Linked DNA regions of Homo sapiens: regions 1 and 3 are each linked to region 2. Evidence: promoter capture Hi-C in human tissues and cell types (Jung and others, 2019). All regions are on one chromosome and are shown on one strand. The core of a region is centred on a gene start or on the middle of the fragment in contact, and the rest is flanking DNA. Distances in the headings are between cores, read along the strand shown. Region 1 has its middle 36 kb from the start of LCE5A. Region 2 holds the start of CRCT1 (cysteine rich C-terminal 1). Region 3 has its middle 45 kb from the start of CRNN.

Evidence for each region. Contacts are between HindIII fragments. The study calls those that stand out against the background at their distance.
Region 1: a fragment that was not itself captured here is called in contact with the fragment with the promoter of CRCT1 in region 2 in 2 of the 25 tissues and cell types used here (neural progenitor cells and thymus).
Region 3: a contact is called between a fragment that was not itself captured here and the fragment with the promoter of CRCT1 in region 2, in 2 of the 25 tissues and cell types used here (mesendoderm cells and spleen).

The regions. Positions count from the first base shown.
Region 1 is chr1:152,473,308-152,477,271 of GRCh38, reverse strand. No RefSeq gene overlaps it. Among named protein-coding and RNA genes, the nearest start is that of LCE5A, 36 kb to the left of the region's middle. The HindIII fragment of the contact is 8,673 bases long and covers 1-3,964 here.
Region 2 is chr1:152,512,279-152,515,892 of GRCh38, reverse strand. CRCT1 (cysteine rich C-terminal 1) reads right to left here and starts at 1,411. Exons shown (of 2, transcript NM_019060.3): 1 at 1,341-1,411; 2 at 1-531. The coding sequence starts at 509. The coding sequence ends at 210. The HindIII fragment of the contact is 6,327 bases long and covers 1-3,614 here.
Region 3 is chr1:152,457,360-152,461,201 of GRCh38, reverse strand. No RefSeq gene overlaps it. Among named protein-coding and RNA genes, the nearest start is that of CRNN, 45 kb to the right of the region's middle. RefSeq lists enhancers at 637-696, 2,615-2,684. The HindIII fragment of the contact is 6,142 bases long and covers 1-3,842 here.

The DNA of each region.
Region 1 (3,964 bases), core at 105-2,604, 39 kb after region 2:
CAGGTGGAGATGGGGAATTTCTTGGGAACTGGAGTGAAGGTCACTCTTCCTATGCAAAGAGACTGATGGCATTTTGCTCCTGCCCTAGAAATCTGTGGAACTTGGAACTTGAGAGAGATGATTTAGGGTGTTTTGCAGAAGAAATTTCTAAGTGACAAAGCATTCAAGAGGAAGCAGAGTATAAAAGTCTGGAAAATTTGCAGCCTGATGATGCAATAGAAAATAAAATACCATTTTCTAGGGAGAAATTCAAGCCAGCTGCAGAAATTTGTGTAAGTAATAAGGAGCTGAATGTTAATCGCCAACACAATGAGGAAAATGTCTCCAGGCCATGTCAGAGACCTTCACAGCAGACCCTCCCATCACAGGCCCAGAGGCCTATGAGGAAAAAATGGTTTCATGGGCCAGGCCCAGGGCTCCTGTGCTGTGTGCAGCCTAGGAACTTGGTGCCCTGTGTCCCAGCTGATACAAGTGTGGCTAAAAGGGGCCAAGATACAGCTCCGGCTGTGGCTTCAGAGGGTGCAATTCCCAAGCCTTGACAGCTTGGCAGAAGTCAAGAATTGAGGTTTGGGAACCCCATCTAGATTTCAGAGGATGTATGGAAACACCTGGAAGTCCAGGCAGAAGTTTGCTGCAGGGGTGGAGCCCTCATGGAGAACCTCTGCTAGGGCAGTATGGAAGGGAAATGTGGGGTCAGAGTCCCCACCTGGGCACTGCCCTGTGGAGCTGTGAGAAGAGGGCTATGGTCCTCCAGACCCTACAATGGTAGATCCACCTACAGCTTGCACCTGTGCACCTGGAAAAGCCACAGGCACTCAACACCAGCCTGTGAAAGTAGCCTGAAGGGGGGCTGTACCCTGCAAAACCACAGGGACAGAGCTGCCCAAGGCTGTGGGAGGCCACCTCTTGCATCAGTGTGACCCAGATGTGAGACATGGAGTCAAAGGAGATCATTTTGGAACTTTAAGTTTTAATGACTGCTCTATTGGATTTTGGATTTTCGTGGAGTCTTTAGCCCTTTTCTTTTGGCCAATTTCTCCCATTTGGAATGGGTGTATTTACCCAATGCCTGTATCCCCATTATATCTAGGAAGTAACTAACTTGCTTTTGATTTTACAGGCTCATAGGCATAAGGGACTTACCTTGTCTCACATGAGACTTTGGACTTGGACTTCTGAGTTAATACTGGAATGAGTTAAGACTTTGGGGGACTGTTGGAAGGGCATGATTGTGTTTTGAATTGTGAGGACATGAGATTTTGTTGGGGCCAGGGGTGAAATGATATAGTTTGAATGGACTAATACAGGCACCCTCTCCTCCTGTTAGGGCACCTTTCCCTATATAGGGCACCCCTCCTACTGTTAGGGCACCCCTCCTCCTGTTAGGACAACCCTCCTCCTGTTAGGGCACCCATTCTCCTGTTGGGGCACCCCCTTTTCCTGTTAGAATACTCCTCTTCCTGTTATAACACCCCCCCTCTTAGGGCAACCCCTCCTTCTGTTAAGGCACCCCTCCCCCTGTTAGAGCAACTTTCCTCCTGTTAGAGCACCTCTCCTCCTGTTAGAACAACTTTCCTTCTGTTGGAGCACCCTTCCTTCTATTAGGACACCCCTCCTTCTGTTAGGGAACCCCTCTTCCTCTTAGGGCATCTCTCCTGATTTTAGGGCCCCATTTTCTTGTTAGAACACACCTCCTCCTATTACAGCACCCTTCTTCTTGTTACAGCACCTCTCTTCCTGTTTAGGGCACCCCTCCGCCTGTTAGGGCATCACTTTCTCTTTTTGGGGCACCTCTCCTCCTGTTAGAGAACTCTACCTCCTGTTAGAGCACCCATTCTACCTCTTAGGTCACCCCACCTCCTGTTAAGGCCCCCTCCTCCTTTTAGAGCACCTCCTTCTCTGATTAGAGCACCCCTCCTTCTCTGATTAGAGCACCCCTCCTCTTGTTAAGATACCCTTCCTCCATTTACAGCATCCATTCTCCTGTTAGGACATCCCCTCCTCCTGTTAGGGACCTACACCTCCTGTTAGAGCACCCCCTCTTCCTGTTAAAGCACCTCCTCCTCCTTTTAGGCTCCTCCTCCTGTTCAGGCCCCCTCCTCCTTTTAGAGCATCCCCTTCTCCTATTAGGCACTCCATCCTATTAGGAGCACCCTAATTAAGGCACTTCTATTAGAGCACCCCTCCCCCTGTTAGGGCACTCTCCAACCCCATTAGAACACCCTTCCTCCTGTTAAGGCACCCCTTTTCCTGTTAGGGCATGCCTCCTCCTGTTCGAACTTCCTACGTCTTGTACACAGCACCCCTCTTTCATGTGATCTCCCAAATTCGGCTGAAACACCTCCAGGCCAGAGAAACCAAAACCCATCAAGACAATAGCCACTTGCTTTTCTGAACAGATTAGATGGTTAGATGATATGGCTTGGCTCTGTCCCCACCCAAATCTCATCTTGAATTCCCAAGTGTTGTCAGAGGGACCCAGTGGGAAGTAATTGAATCATGAGGGCAGGTCTTTCCCATGCTGTTCTCTGTTCTCGTGATAGTAAGTTTCACAAGATCTGATGGTTATTATAATGGGGAGTTTTCCTGCATAAGCTCTATTCTCTTGTCTGCTGCCATGTGAGACATGCCTTTCACCTTCCACCATGATTGTGAGGCCTCTCCAGCCACGTGGAACTGTAAGTCCAATAAACTTCTTTCTTTTGTAAATTGCCCAGTCGGGTATGTTTTTATCAGCAGCGTGAAAATGGACATTAGAAATTATTTTTCATTTTAAGCATGACTCTTTGTAGCCTCTGTCCACTCACTGGTCCTACTTATACCCTTCCACACACTAAAAATTTCTTAGCTCTCCTTCAGACTTCTCATCTCCCAGATAAGCATTCAAGGTTCCTCCCAGGCATTGTTGTCATTAGAGGAATGGCTTTGGATTGCATCATCACTCTAGGCTCTCTACTATGACTTTTCTGGGTCTTTGTCATGGGACTGAAATGGACCTGGCAAGGGGCAGCCTAATAGACCTGTTCTATGGCATAATGGTTGGGCCCATTCACAGCACCGTCTACATGTGGCAGCCCTGGAGTTGTGCAGTAGAAAAGCTGTGGGGGCCTAAGCAGCAACCTCGCTGTCCTTGGGGCCTACAACAGTGTAGATGTTTCCAGGGATGAGTCAGTGTTGATGAGGCAAATTATTCAGGGAGGTTGTGGCAACACAACCAGAAAGAGAGTTGTGGTCAGGGAAGAAAGCAGAAGGTAAAGACAAGAGAAACAGCAGTGACCAGCAGATATGAGGAGTGAGGCAAGTACACAAGGTAAGAGAAAATTCTAAAAAATTAGAAGGCGGTTCAGAAGCAAACTTTTGTTGTGTGTTTAAGGGATTGGTCTACCCAGGACGCCTCTAATATGTGAACTAAGTAAAGAAGGAGGAAATGGATCTAAGCAAAGATATGAGGGTTCCTCCTCATTAGAATCAAACCCATTTGGCCAGGTGCAGTGGCTCACACCTGTAATCCCAGCACTTTGGGAGGCTGAGGTGAGCGGATCATTTGAGCTCAGAAGTTCAAGTCTAGCCTGGGCAACATGGTGAGACTCCATCTTTACAAAAAATTAAAAATTATCCATGTGTGGTGGTGTGTGCTTGTGGTACCAGCTACTCAGGAGGCTGAGGTGGGAGGATTGCCTGAGCCCAGGTTGCAGTGAGCTATGCAAGACTGCACTTCATTCTGGGTGACAGAGGGAGACCCTGTCTAACAAAATAAATCAACAAATAAAATTTAAAAACAAAAAAATAATTTTTAAAAAATGCACTCCTCTCACATTTCACCCTGTGACTGTGTGTGAATCCATGAAAGCATAAAAGGTGAGGCAAAGACCTCAGGCTTATCTTCAGGGTGGGCTCAGGATAAAGGGACTGGGGCAGTTGCTGAGCCTTCTATTTCATGAACCACATCAGACTCATGAATACA
Region 2 (3,614 bases), core at 162-2,661:
GCATGGCTCTCGAATCCCCGGGGAGAAAAATCACATCGGGGTCAGGGAGTTTTGCGTGGCTGAGAACAAAGTGGGTTTCTGAACATCAAAGTGCAATTCGCTTTACGGGGCAAACTCCGAGGCCCAGCCCCGCGTGGGAGCCGCAGCGGGGCGGGCCCGCTCTGGGCTGGGCGGGTTTCTCTAGCGCAGCGCTGGGGGTTGCGGGCCTCTCAGCAGCCGGAGCAGCATCCTGAGCTCCGGTTGTTGGAGCGCTGGGACCTCTGGCTGCCGCCCCCGCAGCAGCAGCAACCACTACTCCGCTGTCGGCGGCGTCTCCTTGGGAAGCAGCAGCAACTGGTGGAGCTGGAGCCGCAGCAGCCTGAGTCGCCGCAGCAGCCCCTGCCGGAGCCGCAGCAGGAGGAGGAGGAGGCGGGCGCCGGGGTGGGCGCCGGGGCGGGACACGGAGCGGGGCCCTGGGACGACCCCTTGGAAAAGCCTTTGGCGGAAACGGCGCTCTGTTGAGAGGACATCGCGGAGCTCCTCACGACAAACCTGGAAGAAAGGCAGCCTTTCAAAGGCGAGCCGGCTTTTTCTTTCCACCAATGGAACTCTGTCTGGGCTTTTGAGATTCGGCTTAGTGTACAAGTCAGCCTGGCCTGGGACAAGGAGGGAAAAGCACCCAGAAAGAGCGGACGCAAAGAAGCAAATCCAAGCAGGTGTTTCCAGTGAGTTAAACATGCTCAGAGCAGGACACAATCCATGCAATGAATCAATGCATTTCCATTTTCTCTGACTAGAAGAAGACTGCTCAAGTTCTCCACAGTGGAAAATAAACAGCACACTGCGGCAACTTATCTGTATGATCCAGTCCAAAATCTCCACTTGGCTTTTTTCTTGTCCCTCATTTTACTTTCCTACCGACCTTCGACTGTATCTTCCTAGTTACTACACCCCCATCAGTTAGAAAACACCCAAGTCCAACAGGCGGTCCCACCTGCTGGGTCTAAATAATCCACAGGCCAGAAGCATGTCCTGATCATTCTTTCTTGCCTACGCCTCTCATGCCCCACAACCATGTGGGAAAGGAGAGTTGTGCCAATATAAATAACCCCATCCAGGGAGCTGAAAGACCTGGGTTCTAGTCACAGCTCTTCTGCGGACTTGCTGTGTACCCTTGCAAAAACCACCTCCTATGTTGCCTTTATGTCCTCATTAGTACCTTAAGAGGTTGGCTCACTAGAAGCGTAGGTGCCTTGCGGGACACCCCTTCCACATCTATCTGCTGCCTGTGTTCTGTTTGCTCCTCCCCTGTGCCCTCAACTCATCCCACCCTCTCCCCCAGACCCTGCTAGGAGACTTACCAGACCCTGGCTCCACTGAAAGACTCACTACGTTCTCCAACTGGAATGGGCCACCTGCTAGGCAGTGGATTGAGCAGCGTCCAGCCAGAGAACCTTTTTATAAGAAGTATTCAGGTTCAGGCTCTTGGGAGGGGCCCATTTCCCAACAGACGTGCTCAGCTGACACTCACATCCCAGAGACATTCATCACTCAGGTAGCATTGTAGGTGGTGCATGTGGGCATCTAAGTCACTTCACAGAGGTGCCAGGATTGCTATGGCATGTTTACTTTCCAAACAGGGCACTGTTTGTACCTGGGAGGCTGTGTGTATGCTAAGAGAGGGCATGGGGCTCAAATGCAGGGAGGTCTGGAACCCCTGCCCTTGTCTTCAATACACACACACACACACACACACACACACACACACACACACACAGACGGCTCCACTTGCCCACACATCCATTCCTATGTAGTCATCTACTTGGTAGGTGGTAGTTCACCTATTTTTATCTTGATTCTCATCTCTCTGGCTCTTGGTCCTTGGCTCCCCAGGGCAGACCACAAGCTATGCGATAAGCCTGCTGGGTTTCATCCATATGCTTCAAGATGCAGTGAGTGAAGATGATGACGGGGATGCACCTTTGGGAACCCCAGGGGTGATTTCTCTCTGTCACTGGAGACAGGAAGAAAAACCTAGGCAAAGTTAAGGAACCATAAGACCAGAAAAGTTGTGAATGTAGTCAGGTTGCCATATCCCCATAATACAGCATGGTATGACAAAGAGAAAAATGTGTGCAGGACAGTGGCCCAATTGCAAAAAGGCTAGTCAGCCTGTGGGACTCCTGCTTCTTATCCCACCCCCAACCACCAATCTGCCTTTGAAGATAAGTTCTCCCTAGGGCCACTGCCCAGTGCAAAAGAAAATGGGAAAGGAAGAAGGGAGGGAGGGAAAGAAGAAAAAAAAGAGAAAGAAAGAAAGAAAGTTCTTTCCAAAGGTCCAAAGTGTTCATGATAGATAGTGTTTTCAGAATAACTAATTTTTAAGAATTGGAGGATACTTTGGCAGTCAACTTCAGAACTGCTTCTTAATCAAATTGCCCACAACTGTGAATGTGAACTATAACAGAAGTCCAAGACTAAGAATTCAGGAATTAAGGATGAGAGACAGGTTTGGGGGCGAGTGAGCTGGGAGTGGCTCAAGGGACTAGGCGAGGAAAGATAAGTCACAAAAGATACCAGTTTCATTTAACATGGATTTAGAGCCTGATTAACAGGTTGCCAGTTCCTAGAGCACCTGTTGGTGAGTATAGGTGAGACATTCCAAAAAGTAAAGTCAATATTAGAACAGAGAAGGAAGTAATGAAATAACAAGACAGAGGCAGGATCTCCTCTGGGAAAATGGGCAAAGTTCTTTTAAAAAAAAAAAAAAAGAATGAAGAACGTTTGGTAGGAATCAGTATAAGGAGATAATCTGGGCAAGTGCCTACTCATTCTGTGGGCATCCTATGATCTCATAAACCAGCTTACTTTATTTATCGCTATTAACTCTTATCAAAGGAGGCATCAATTGTTTATCTTTTATATTAAAGGCTGATTTGGAATTAACTTTTCTAGTTATCTTTTCTAGGTACATTATGAGTGTCTCCTGAAGGAACCAGCCCATTCCTAAAGAAATGTTGCTTGGAAAACCCAACACAGGGACCAAAACCCCTGTACTCTTATACCTCTCACTGCACACACACACACACACACACACACACACACACACACGTACGTCCCAACCACATAGAGACAGTCTTTGCAAAGAAGGGTGTCTTTCTCAGTTCTTTACCCAGATTCAAATCCAGGATTTCAGCATGCAGGGAAAATGTGCTCAGACGTTTCATATCTGCCTCCAAAACTCACTCACTGCCCACCCAGCTCTCCCTCTAGCCAACTGATGGAAACACCTGAGCTTATAATAATCAGAAAAGTAAAGAGTGTCCATTTATTAGAGCCCAGGATGAGCACTTCAGGCAATCTTATTCCCCATGAATGGGGACAAGCAATTTTTCAAACTGTGACCCATGCTTGAAGGAAACCCTCTCAGAACCTGAACCTTTTGAGTACAACCATCCTCTTCTCTTCAAACCCATTCCTGGCTCTCCTCATACAATCTTGTGTCTGGCGTAATGGTCTCAGACATTATTCTTTCCTTCAAGCTTAAAGTTCCAGAATCCAGTGCATAGAAGGAAATATTGTTTTCCAGAGGCCTAAGTAGCTTCACTGCCAAAATGTGCTTCCTAAACAAGTTT
Region 3 (3,842 bases), core at 605-3,104, 55 kb after region 2:
ATAAACCTAAAATACAGGCAGTTCGTCTCTTTTTAGAAGTCAAAACCTTAACATCTGGGAGTGTCCGTATGAATTTTGGCCCCTAAAAATCTTAAAAAGGGATGTTTTTGAGTTGCCAGCATCAATACTTAGTATAAAAAGTTTATAAGTGCAATAACTCTTTGGAACTCTATCACCAAAGGAGGACATTCTTCTTCTATTTAGATGTCACACATCTCCACAAACCGAAATGCAGTCTGTTTCCTATTTATTGTTATATGTTGCCTGCATTCTTTCTTTCAACAGTTATTGAACACCTTGCTGTGTCCTAGGACCTGTGCACATCTTCTGGGATCTGCCATAATTTAATGCTAATTCTCTGTCCCCCTCTGGGAGAAGACAAACACATTAGCCACATGGTGATTAGATGTAGTTCAAGGTGTCTTAGGGTCTCTGAGGACTGGGGAGTTTGGAGAGTGTAAGGGATGGATCTTGGAAGTAGGTGATTTTTGAAGTAGGTGATGTTGGGGGACATCTTGGATGTACAGATTGTTTTTCGTAAGGTATACCAGCACAAGCAAAGGCAAAGGGACATTTGCATGATGCTACCATGAGGTATTATATACATAAAGTGTTTCGGGAAGACTGAAATAATTAATTTGCTAGAGTCACGTATAGAAAGGCTTCATTTGCCATTTCCAAGTAAAGAAGAATGAAGATTGACTGGGTGAAAAGGCGGTTTATGCACACAACCAGCAGGTGGCGCCCACCCTTCTGCACATCTAGCAGCCTGGTTAGTCCCTCCCAAATTACAGCAACCAGGAAGGAGTCAAATGCTGATGTCCACCTGGGCCAACCCTCACCCCCACACACATCCCACACCTTATACTCTGAGCTACTCTGAACCCACTACCTACAGAAACTAGAACAGATAGGAAACAGCATGGTTAAAAATGTTCCACACTTGCTTTCACTTTCAAGAAGAATGTCACTTCTGTGCTTTTACTTTCAGATAATTTAAAAACCAAAAGTCTACTTAATGCCAAAAAAAAAAAGAGAAGTAAAAATAGTAATTGATTTCAGAGTGGTGAGGACGCTGGACCTAAAACCAGGGGTACAAGGAAGCAGCCTCGGTGTGGTGGGGATCAGTGAGAGCCTGTGACTCCTGGGGCCCTCCTCGGCCACTGAGCTGGGGCTCACTGACACCAGGAGGCCAGCTCAGAGCATGGCAGCTGCTGCAGGCAGGGCCACTCGGCCGAATGAAGGCAATGGGGTGCAGAGGAGAGAACGGGGCTCTGGAGCCAGAACATCTGCTTTGCTGGCTCTGTGGCCATGTGTGAGTTACCCACTCTCACCAAACCACTATTTCTCAACTTCTAAATTGGTCCATAACACACTCCCAGAGGAGTTGACATGATCAGCATGTTTAAGTGCCTAGTGGTGCCCAGCATATAATATATACTCAGTCAGTAGAGGTAGCTCAACCCCATTACTCTCCTCTCTCACTCCCTTCCAGCCACACTGGCCTCTTTGCTGTATCTTGTGTAGATCAGGAATGATTTCACCTTAGGACATTTGCATTGGCTTTTCCCTCTACCTGGAATCTTCTTACCCAAGATATCTGCTTGGCTCCCTCCCTATATTTCTTTCAAAAGTAAGCTTCTTAATAAAGCAGAGCTGACCAGTCCATTTAAATTACAACTTACCCTTTATCCTTGCCACTTGCACTCTCATTCCTTATTCAGCTCTATTTCTATAGTGGTTACCGCCTTCTAACATGTTGTATAATTTACATATTTATTAGGGTTATTGTTTACTGCCTACTACTCCCACCCACATATCCCAGCTTTTATCTATTCTGTTTACTGCTGTATCTCTAGAGTCAATAACACTGACTGGACATCGTAGACACTCAACAAATACTTATCAGTTTTATGAATGAATGGATGCATGGATAGATGCTCTTCCATCTTCAAAAATCAAATATCATCTGTCAAACAGAGAGAGCAGGTGTTAAGGTCAAAGGCGATCCCTTATGTGAAAGGGCAGGTGGAGGAGGAAGCACTGCACCATGGAAAACTGTGTTCCAGGTGGTTGCCAAGAATACTCAGAAGTTAGAGATGAAGGGCTGCCCCAGACACAGCCTTGGGGCCCAAGATTCATACTGCTGTTAGAGGGGCACAAACTTGCTGGGTTTTGACTCTGGGAGGAAAACCACGTGTGGGGTCTTAAGCGGGGCCCTGTGTCTTTGGGGATTCACATTTGTTGCACCCAACTATACTCTGGAGCTTCAGAAATCAATGGAAGTTGCTCTGGATTCAAAAATCAATAGAAGTTGCTCCCTTCCCTGGAGATGCCCACGGTCAACCTTTGTCTTTTGGAGTCAGGCTAACCTGAAGTTGAATCCCAGCTCTACCACCATTGAGTTATGACCTTGGACAAATCACGTAAATTATCTGAGTTTACACTTCTATACATGGCAATATTAGTGGCCACTTTTCAGCAGACTGCCTACACACAGTGTGAATTTGAGAAATACTAGTTCCCTTACCGTTCCGTCTTCCATCTCTGAAACTTCGCTGGAGCTCCATCTTCTTGAGACATGGCGATGCATTTCAGGAGTTTCCCTGAAGAGGGAGCCAGAGCACCACGGAAATCCTAATTGTTGGCTGACAGCAGTCAGCGCAGGGAAGCTTATGGGCACAGCCAGTCAGCAAGTCTTTTGGGTCCAGACCTCGGCTTCCTCTCTCTCAATGCCTTCTATCAAAACCCCCCCACCTTGTGCCAAGTGCTGCTCACAGTCTGCCAAGCAGCTCCCCTATCTCAGGCTCTACCTAGTCAAAATGATCTTTCAATCAAAATTCCAATTTTCTTTTCAGTCACTTTATATAGCTGTTGTCATAGTAAGTGACAACTTGGTTTAATAAAGCCAGTTGTGCCAGGATGTTGCTAGGTAATATTTGCTACTTCTAGGTAACGTGTATATTTTAACAGGTGCCTTCTGATGATACATATGGGGACAGGTAGGCATTCCAAATGCTGAGATCCAGTGCCACTCACCTTTAGACCACCCTGCATTCCATGGGCTATACTTAATATTTGGTGCTTACCCACAGTAAGCTTACATTAGGTTGAACACATAAAATTGTTCATAATCCACCATTTTACCTACAAAACAACAATTTCATATGGTCCAAAATAATATTTCACTTCTTCACCCCCACTCAATTTCAGTGTAGACTCCAGGTCTTTTTTTTTACTTTCCCCATCACATTTTTGCCCTCAAGCACTGTTTTCACTCTTGTTATATTCCCCCCCTCCAGCCCTACCTCAGTTTCCAGTTCCTACACCTTGCCTAGGCCACACCTCACCCTTGCAGGGCATCTCCCTGCTGAGGCAGCTGCTGTGATGGGATTGGTCCCACCTGCCATCTCCAAAATGAGCACAACAGGGCTTTGTCCAGCCAAGAACATAGGGCTCCAGCTCCTCCCATACCACAATATCCCATGAGCACTCTCTCAGTCTCCCAGCAAACTTCTCTGCCCTCGCAGACTCTGGAGTGCCAGTCCCATCGAGTAACTATCTGAAACCCTTTGAGTCTAATTGTCTTCAGATGTGAAATGTAAAAGGACAATGCACACCACATAAGGTTGACATAAGGAATGACTGGCGTAATGGTTGTAAAAAGCCTAGCACTGTGCCTGGCAGATGGCAGTCATTCTGCAAGGTACAGTTGCCCTCTCAGAACCTAGGCATGGTGTACAAGACCAAAGCCCCCAAAGCAACTCATTGTCCTGTCCACCTCTTCCTAAAATGCCATGTTATTGTTGCACCCCCATAGGCACCATTTTGTCAAGTGTGGT